Regions from separate parts of the Homo sapiens genome. Here all the other regions are linked to region 1. The links are contacts of gene promoters, found by promoter capture Hi-C in blood cells and fetal thymus (Javierre and others, 2016). All regions are on one chromosome and are shown on one strand. Each heading gives the region's core, a stretch centred on a gene start or on the middle of the fragment in contact. The rest is flanking DNA. Distances are from core to core; before and after follow the strand shown.

What was found. The method cuts DNA at HindIII sites, captures the fragments that hold promoters and counts their contacts. A CHiCAGO score of 5 or more calls a contact.
Region 2: the fragment with the promoter of TEX13B here is called in contact with the fragment with the promoter of MID2 in region 1 in 4 of 17 cell types (endothelial precursors, total CD4 T cells, naive CD8 T cells and 1 more); the score reaches 7.9 in endothelial precursors.
Region 3: the fragment with the promoter of VSIG1 here is called in contact with the fragment with the promoter of MID2 in region 1 in 6 of 17 cell types (total CD8 T cells, activated CD4 T cells, total CD4 T cells and 3 more); the score reaches 7.1 in total CD8 T cells.

Annotation. Positions count from the first base shown.
Region 1 is chrX:107,824,203-107,827,239 of GRCh38, reverse strand. MID2 (midline 2) reads right to left here and starts at 1,374. Exons shown (of 10, transcript NM_012216.4): 1 at 810-1,374. The coding sequence starts at 813. RefSeq lists silencers at 557-606, 767-956. The HindIII fragment of the contact is 8,930 bases long and covers 1-3,037 here.
Region 2 is chrX:107,980,783-107,983,764 of GRCh38, reverse strand. It overlaps TEX13B (testis expressed 13B), which reads left to right and starts at 1,395. Exons shown (of 3, transcript NM_031273.2): 1 at 1,395-1,455; 2 at 1,606-2,096; 3 at 2,206-2,901. The coding sequence starts at 1,638. The coding sequence ends at 2,685. It also overlaps the pseudogene LOC112267910 and the pseudogene NLRP3P1. The HindIII fragment of the contact is 6,409 bases long and covers 1-2,982 here.
Region 3 is chrX:108,043,433-108,046,600 of GRCh38, reverse strand. It overlaps VSIG1 (V-set and immunoglobulin domain containing 1), which reads right to left and starts at 1,536. Exons shown (of 7, transcript NM_182607.5): 1 at 1,422-1,536. The coding sequence starts at 1,470. The HindIII fragment of the contact is 8,448 bases long and covers 1-3,168 here.

The DNA of each region.
Region 1 (3,037 bases), core at 125-2,624:
CAGGATTTCAATTTCCTGCTCTAAGAAGAAACACCTCTGAAAAATAATGTGCAACACACGAAGTGCTAAGTAACCTAAACCTTATCATCACCAGTAATGTTTCTGTAAATCTACTCCGCCGTTATTTACTTAATTCTTACAAGGCAGGAATGGAAAATCCCCACTCTCCCTGGTTGCGTCGCAGTCTGTCCTGTGGACATATGTAAGTTTTCCCTCTCCCCCACAGAGCTGATTTCACAGCTAGGCCAGAAATAAGGAACCATCCAGACGGAGACTCGAGGATCGCTCCCTGGCAGAAAAGGGATTAAGTTTCACCGGGCCTCCCCGCCGGCAGGGCGTCCGCAGCCACGCCGGCTGCTGCGACAGCACCGCCCGGCAGACGGCCGGCCAAGGGGCGACGCCTGGGCCGAGGAGGCTGCCGGCTGCGGGAGCGTGGGAAGGCGGCCGTGCCCTTTCCCAGACTCGCGCCCAGGCGCCGGGGGATTCGCTCGACTGCCCGCGCCGGGCCCGGCCAGGCTGCGCAGAGGCCTCGGCCGCCCCCGCCCCGCACCCCGGAGTGCAAACTCCGTCCCAGGAGGGCAGTGGCAGGAACCCGGGCCCCAACAGCATGACTGAGAGCCGGAGCTGAGCTGGGGCCCCCGTCGCCGTTTCGAGCCTCGCGGGCCCCATCACCCTGCCTCGCCGAGCCGGAGAGCCCTCGGCCAACGCCGGGCCCCGGCGGCACCTGAAAAGCGGCCGGAGCCGGAGACTAGCCCTGCGAGGGCTACGACGCTCGACCTCCAGGGCCGCGGCGAGGGGGCGCGTTTTACCCATAGCGTTCCCAGGTGCCAGCCATCTCCTCCGCTCGCTCGAGGGCGCTGGGCTCTCGTCTGCCTCCGCAGCGGGTTGGCTCGGGCTCCGGCGCGAGCTCCCGGGCCCCGGTCGCCGCCGCCGCCGCTACCACTGTAGGCCGCCGCCCGCCTTCGCCGCCGCTGCCGCTACCGTCGCCGACGCCGCGCAGCAGCCGGGATCCGCCAGCCCGCGCGCCCCGCAGGGGACAGCACGGCGGCCGCGATGCTACCGCAGCTGGGCCTCCCGAGCTAAACTTAAGAGTTTTCGCCCCTCAGTCCAGGGGCAGCACCATGACACCACGGCAGCACCACACTGTCATTTCCGCCGCCGCAGAGGAAAAAAAAGGCAATCCCTTCCAAAAGGGAGGCGGAGTGGGGGCAAACGGGGCTGGGGCTGACACCCCAAGGGAGCACTGGGAAGGGCCCAAGAAGAAGGGGTGCTCGGCCACCTTCCCAGGCTCACCTTCCGCCGCCCCCGCCACTCCCAGCTCCCCCAGCCCTTCCTCTGGAGGCACGTTTACATGTCTTCTCCCCTGGCAGGAGTGACCGGAGAAACCTGAGCAAGCAAAGGCAGCCGGTGGGTGGGGCTCGGGTTACTACTGTACCTACCAGCTGATTCCAGCAGCCTTTTCTCCAGCGCCCTGTCATCTTGAAGGAAGACACACCGAGAGGGACCCGGACGGGTGTGCGTGTGTGTGTGTATGGTGTGTATGTGCGTGTGTGTGTGTGTGACAGAGCGACAGAGATAGCTAAATGTGTGTGAAATGCAGAAGGAAGGCTATGGCTAAACTCTTCTCCCACTCCCCAATCCCCCTGTCCCCCAACCCCACAAACCCCCAGGTTAGAACAAGAAAGAGGCCTTTGCAACGGGTAATAAGAAGAGAGAGCCGGGTCCACCGCAGAGATCCTCCCTATGAAGCTGCTCTATGCAAAGTTAACTACAGAGTAAAACAAAAATAGTGGAGGAGATAGAAAAGGGCAGACAATTGAAGGAAACCGAACCTCTCTTTCTTTTTACAAAAAAAGAATGGCTGTGTTTTATTGGCCTCGGGCAGAAGTTGTGGAGGTGGATTAAAACCATCAAAAGAAAAAAAAAAGTAGGATTTTTCTTGTACCTTCAAATTGTTGACCAGTAAAACAAGAGGGTCGTTACCACATGGACAATGAGGCAGATGCTAGCTATCCAGCTATTCCAGGTCCCTAATAAGCTAATTGGTCCATTTGGAATCCAGCATCCTCCCATTGGTCTGGAATCAGCCTGTTTGCTGACCTGTCATTGGCTCAGAGACCACCACCCGACTCAAAAGGTGGATGGGAGAGGGAAAGAGCAGGAAGCCCCATAAGAGACTCTGTTTCTAACTTGGGGCAAAAAGGGAGAAGAAGGGGAAAGAAATGAGAAAATGGGAAGACTCACCCCAGCACACACACACACACGCCTCCCATCATTGTGCATAGGAACAAGTCCAGAAAAATTGAGGTATCTCTTGGTATATCCCTTCAGGGAACCAATAGTAATCAGTCAACACTCCTGTTAAACAATGTGCTAGAGAGCACTGAGGTGGAAACCAAGACAAAAGTCACAACCAGGCTCTCCTGATGAAAGTCTGGCCCCTAAGAGAAGTAAAAGTTAGTGAGTCACACTTAAAGCACAGGCAACAAAAGCAAAAATAGGTAAATGGGACCATAAAACTTTCAAACATCTGCACAGGAAAGGACACAATCAACAGAGTGAAAAAGCAACCTACAAAATGATAGAAAATATTTGCAAACCATATATCGGATAATGTGCTAATATCCAGAATGTATAAAGAACTTCTATAGCTCAATTAAAAAAAAAACTCTTAAAAGTGGACAAAAGACTTGAATAGACATTTCTCCAACGAAGATATACAAGTGGCCAACAGGCATATGCAAAGATGATCCACATCACTAATTGTTAGGGAAATGCAAATCAAACCCCAATGAAATATCACTTCACATCCATTAGGATGGTCACACACACACACACACACACACACACACACACACAAAACAAACACACAGGAAAATACGGCAAGGTGTGGTTCACACTTGTAATCCCAGCTACTCAGGAGGGGATGCTGAGGCAAGAGAGTCACTTGAGACCAGCAGTTAGAGATCAGCCTGGGTAACATGAATAGAACGTGTCTCTACAAAAAATAAAATTAGAACAGAAAATAATAAGTGTT
Region 2 (2,982 bases), core at 146-2,645, 160 kb before region 1:
AAGATAACCACTGTTAAAGTGTTAGTATATAACTTTCCAGATTTGTGATGTATGCATACATATAGTTAGTTATATGCTCTTTGTAACAAGCGAAATTAGAGAAAAATGTATTTTAAAGTTAAAAACTTTTTTTCTAACCTCCAGTCCAACCCCACTTCCCAGAGATAATTAATGTTGAGTCTGCTATATATCCTCTCTCATTCTGTTCTCCAAGATTATAGAAACATACAAACATATGCAAACACACACATACACACAAATACGGGATCATAGAAAACATTACTCCTACAACTTTACATGCCCTTTTGTCATTGGCCATCATCATAGATCCATAGGTAGAAACAGATTCAGTTACAGTACAATGTCATGTAATACGTAGCAACGCTGGACTCAACCTGAGATTTGTCTGATTTATCTTGTGGGTCTCAGAAAGTCATTCAAGGTTTTCTTGTTTTTGTGTTTGTTTGTTTGAGACAGAGTCTCACTCTGTCACCCAGGCTACAGTGCAGTGGTGCGATCTCGGCTCACTGCAACCTCCGCCTCGTGGGTTCAAGCGATTCTCCTGCCTCAGCCTCCCGAGTAGCTGGGACTACATGCGCGTGCCACCACATCTGGCTAATTTTTTGTAATTTTAGTAGAGACGGGGTTTCACCCTGTTAGCCAGGATGGTCTCGATCTTCTGACCTCGTGATCCGCCCATCTCGGTCTCCCAAAGTACTGGGATTACAGGCATGAGCCACCGCGCCCGGCCGAAGGTTTTAAGAGACATATTCATATCCCTCTGATGGAAGATCTCTGATATTTCATGTTTTGGTAAAAAGGTGTATTTATGCTACTCCTAACTCTCTTTCTCCCACAGTTGCTTCAAGATTCAAGGCGTTTCAGTAGGGGAGGAGTGGGAGAAGGGGTGATGGGAGGAGTGTGGGGAAAGAGGAGCTAAGGGAGGAAAGGCAGGCCAGGATTTGTTAGGGTGTCTGGGATGTTTAGTCCTGAGCAAACAGGGGATAAGCTCCGCTCCTGGCTCCACCCTCTTCCTCCAAGGGCAACTGAGGGGTTGGGGCTGTTTCCTGCTCTAGAATATTCCAGTTGGGGGCGAAACTCCCCTGGCATGGCACAAACCATTATGATGGGGAGGGATAAGTCTTCAACTTGTTCACAAATACTTTTTTTGGTCCTAAGTCCTTCCGGACCACTCCTGTTTCTTTCAGCCTTCAAGGTCTCCCGACCATGTGGCAGGTTCCCTTTTGTCCCAGTGGAATGGCAGAGGCCTTCCTCACTCACTCCCTTTCACCCCTACAGTCTCTGGAAATTGGAACAGTCCCAGAGTAAAATCCTCATGGGTTGGCCCTGAGGCTTCTTTTCCCGCAGAGCCCTAGGAGGGAAAGAGGCCACCCTCTCTTCAGGCGTGTTAAGCAGCGGGGTTGGCCTGTACTTCCTCTGGCCCTGGCTGAAGAGGTGAGGCCTGGTGGGAGATGTCCTAGGGTAGGACAAGCCGGTCAGAGGGTCATTAGGAGGGTCTTGTCAGAGGTGGGAGGGCGGAGAAGACAGATGAGGGGAGGGGCTAAGGAGGAGGAAAGAAACCTATTGGCTGCTCCATCCACACAGGGCTAGTGAAACCGTTAAGCCCCTAGGCGATCATGGCCTTGAGACCTGAGGACCCCAGTAGTGGGTTCCGGCACGGAAACGTGGTGGCCTTCATCATCGAGAAAATGGCCAGGCACACGAAAGGCCCCGAGTTCTACTTCGAGAATATATCCTTATCCTGGGAGGAGGTGGAAGACAAGCTCAGGGCCATCCTGGAGGACAGCGAGGTGCCCAGCGAGGTCAAAGAGGCCTGCACCTGGGGCAGCCTGGCCTTGGGTGTGCGCTTTGCCCACAGGCAGGGGCAGTTACAAAACCGCAGGGTGCAGTGGCTGCAAGGCTTTGCCAAACTGCACAGATCAGCTGCGCTGGTCTTGGCCTCAAACCTGACGGAACTCAAGGAACAGCAGGAGATGGAATGCAATGAGGCGACCTTCCAGTTGCAGCTAACCGAGACCAGCCTTGCGGAGGTGCAGAGAGAGCGGGACATGCTGAGATGGAAGCTCTTCCATGCCGTAAGATCCCCCGAATGGTCCCTGTCCAATGCCTCTGCCCTGCCCCAACCTGTCCGGACCCCCTGCCCTGTCCCCAGAATGTGTTTCAGCTCTGCCTACTTCTCTCCAGGAGCTGGCACCTCCCCAGGGACAGGGCCAGGCTACAGTGTTTCCAGGCCTGGCCACTGCCGGAGGGGATTGGACAGAAGGAGCAGGTGAGCAGGAAAAGGAGGCGGTGGCTGCTGCTGGTGCTGCTGGAGGAAAAGGAGAGGAGAGGTATGCAGAGGCAGGGCCTGCCCCCGCAGAGGTCTTGCAGGGGCTGGGAGGAGGCTTCAGGCAGCCCCTCGGAGCTATTGTAGCAGGCAAATTACACCTTTGCGGGGCAGAGGGAGAAAGATCTCAGGTCAGTACAAACAGCCATGTCTGTCTTCTCTGGGCTTGGGTCCACAGTCTCACTGGAGCCTCTTCCTGTCCAGCTCCCTACCTCATTCACATACTCATACCCATGCCCTTTGTCCGCCTTCTCAGCCATACCCAATATACCCCCTTCACCAGCAAAGGTCACAGAACGGGTTCCAACTCAGATGCCTTTCAACTGGGGGGCCTCTGATGCTAGCCTGTGGTCAGATGTGGAGGCCCAGGGAATAGACCCTCAAGAGCCCCCAAGAGACAGGAGAGACTCCGAACTCCATCAGCAGAGAAGACCTCCAGTATATCGCAGGCCAGGGAACTGGGACTGCCCGTGGTGTAAAGCTGTGAATTTTTCATGGAGGGAAAATTGCTTCCTCTGTGGGAGGCGAATCTGGCTGCAAAAGCCTCAGTAAATTCAGAAATGTAAAATAGAACAGAAATATATCTCAATGGGAAATCAATCTTCAGGGGGAGAGGGGAGAGGTGGGAGGGGGAT
Region 3 (3,168 bases), core at 287-2,786, 220 kb before region 1:
CAGTAAAAATTACTTGTATGTTAGGTACAGTTAAAAAAAAAAAAAACTGTTCTTAACAACCGTTCCAAACCCTGTGCCTAGTATGGGCCAGGGCAAGGCTTCACATAGGGAAACAGGTATGATCTTAGAGGGCTGATGCAGAAGGCCCAGGGGTCGACCCAACTGGCTAATGACTGGAAACCCTTTAAGAAGAGACAAAACTTCCATATCTAAAGTTACATTTAAATGAATATGCCTGGGGAGAAGGGAAAATAGGAACATGTGTTTCCAGCTCTAGGGCCTAGTTAGGTCACTGGACAAATGGAGTATTGCCTTCTGGTGATGTTTAACTCCATAAAACATCTATGCTTAAACATTTAGTAATGAACATTTAAAGAACTATTTCTAAACATGAGATCACTTTGAAAAGTAACACTTTTTTCTAATTATAAAAATAGCATAATGTTCTTCGTAGAAAACCCAGGAAGTATGAAAAGCTGGGAAATAAAATTAAAATCATCTATAATCCCATCACCCAGAGGCAACCACCATGAGCACTTCGGTATATAACCTTCTAGTAATTTATTCTAGGCATATGTGTGCATCCTGCTTTTTCACTTAATATTTTATCGTGGGTATTTTCTTATGTCATTAATACGCCTAGTAAACCTCATTCTAACCACTGCCTAATATTACTAATGGCTTGAAAATCCTGTTTTTGGATAAACAATATTATTGTATTTACTATGGACCTAACTTATAAGAACAGATGCAAAATGTATCTGATATTTGAAAACTACCCAAGGGATTTTTGGAATTAATGATCTCTCCTGGATCTAACTAACATCAGTATTTTGATTCCAAAATTGATTTTCTTCTGTTCAGATACCTAAAATCACCCATGTTGTGCACCATAAATCACTCACATATTTTGCAAAATACAGTCTTAGGATTGGAAAACCACAACTCCTTAAGAAATATTAGACAGTAAAGTACTCAGTAAATTTCTGTTCTTCCCATATGTAAGCCAGGGCAGGCCCTCCAACCCAGGCTCTGCCTGCTAGAGCAAGTCAATCACTGAGCTTAAAGGAAACACTAAAGTAAGTAAAACAGAGACAAAATTATCCCTAGCACAAAGTTTGGTTTCTGAGTAAATTCATTTTTTTCACTTTTCAAAGTAAGTAAAGTAATAAACTATATTTTTTTCTGAGAAAATTTTCATTCAGAAGCTCCATAAAACAATAATATTATGGGCTTACACCCCTAATATATCAGCATGGCATATGTTTGCTAAGCAAGAGTTCTGAAAATTAACTCATCATACTAATCACAATTCATTTGAAGTACAGGAGATGAAAATTCTATGTAAAAATGTGGAATTTTTATTTAAAAGGAAACTCTGTTTCCAATTATATTTGGTGGTTTGGAGATCCTTTCCTTACCTGCAAGGCAGCTTAGGATCAGAAAGACCTTCCAAAATGCGAACACCATTGTGTGGAGGTTAGTTGAGAGCAGCAGGTGCCAGTAGCTTGCCTGGACTAGGCTGAGTCTCAAATTGGCTTCTTCGATCACACCGAGGTTTGCCTGGCTTATCTGCTGGGCATCGCCAAGCAAACATGCCTCTTTGGGCTTACTTATTGCGTATAGACTTTTTTCAGTACAGATTTGTGTTTCTTTGAAACACTTTTCATGGGGCGTGTTTCCTTGATATATTTGCTACTGTGTTAATAATAAACCCACGCATTTAAATTATTCAAGCTCCTTGTACACAGATTCTCTAAGTCTCATTGTTTAAAATCAATCTTACTAAAACGTTGTACTTGGGCTGGGGGATATGGTTGGAAGAGAGCCTATGCAAATAAAAGCTGACAAGGCTAATTAATTTCAAATATTTCCATGAGTCTTACAGAATTGATTCACTAACCTCCTTTTACAAATTAAGTTAGTAAATTGGTACTATATCGTTTCCTGGGGAGATGGGGCTCACGGGAAGGGCACAGGGGTTATGAAGCTAAAAAGCATTCATTTCTGTGTGAACAAACTCTGGATATGTTACTCTTTTTTGAAACACTGGCAGTTGTCACTACCCTCCACCAAAACTAGCAGTAAAATGATTTACATGCTTTTGTCTGTCGGGTTAGAAACCTTATAGCACGTATTTGCTAACGTAATTTTGCAAAATCAAGTTAGTGAATACATGCTTAAAGACTTTCTTTGGAGAAGTCTGATTTTTTGGAGAATTAAGATACTCAGTAAATGCTATAGGGTTTCCTTAGAAATGGAGGTTCACCAGGAGGGCATGGGAGGCTCCACAGGTAAGGAACTTTCATGGGAACATGAACTTCTAATAGTGTTCCTATTATGCTTAAGTTACCCGGAGAAACCTAAGGACTTTCTCTGGCTCTTCCCATGTGATTTCTAAGTCCTATCATTTCCATCTCCACAGCGACTTTCAGATGTGTTCTTTCTCCAATCTGCTGCTTCCATCTTGGTCCAGGTACTCAGCTTCCCACTTTGGCCTATCATAGCAGCTTCCTAAGTGGTCTCCCTGACTTATTCCACCTTCATCCTGTGTGCCAGCCGCAGGCCAATGTTCCAGCCCTAGTGAAATATTTCCAGTAACACCATAAATGGACTCTTTCATCAAATCCAAAGTCCTTAATATGGATTCCCATTCTTCCAATATCTGATCCTCACCTCATCTGAACTTTAGCCACATTAACTCATGCCCCTGAAAAAGTATGTCAAGATTTATTGCCTCAAAGTGTTCAGTCACATGAAATGTGTACAAATTTCAAGTGATATGTTTTATGTTCCTGTCTTTAATTTACAGGAAATGTTTGACCCCATCTTACTTTAGCCATTCCAATCTCCCACTGCTTCTTAGAAAGCCATTTTGCTTCCATCATGCCTGATTCCTCCTTGCAGCCTATCCTGTCCATGCTCATGTCTGATGCCAAACGTTGGCTCCAGGTGATTTCCATCACTAGAGTTTTCTTCTTCCTCCTCTTACTAGCCAAGTATATTCTTAGCATAGATCAGTCATACTGTCCTATGTGAGAATTTCAATGAACCGACATACCACCCTAGCATAAATTTCCATTTTACTTAAAGCCAATATCCTACAGCTGACCATTGATTATTCTCCAGTAGTTTCGCATTTATTAACTGGTCTACCTTAAATCTAGT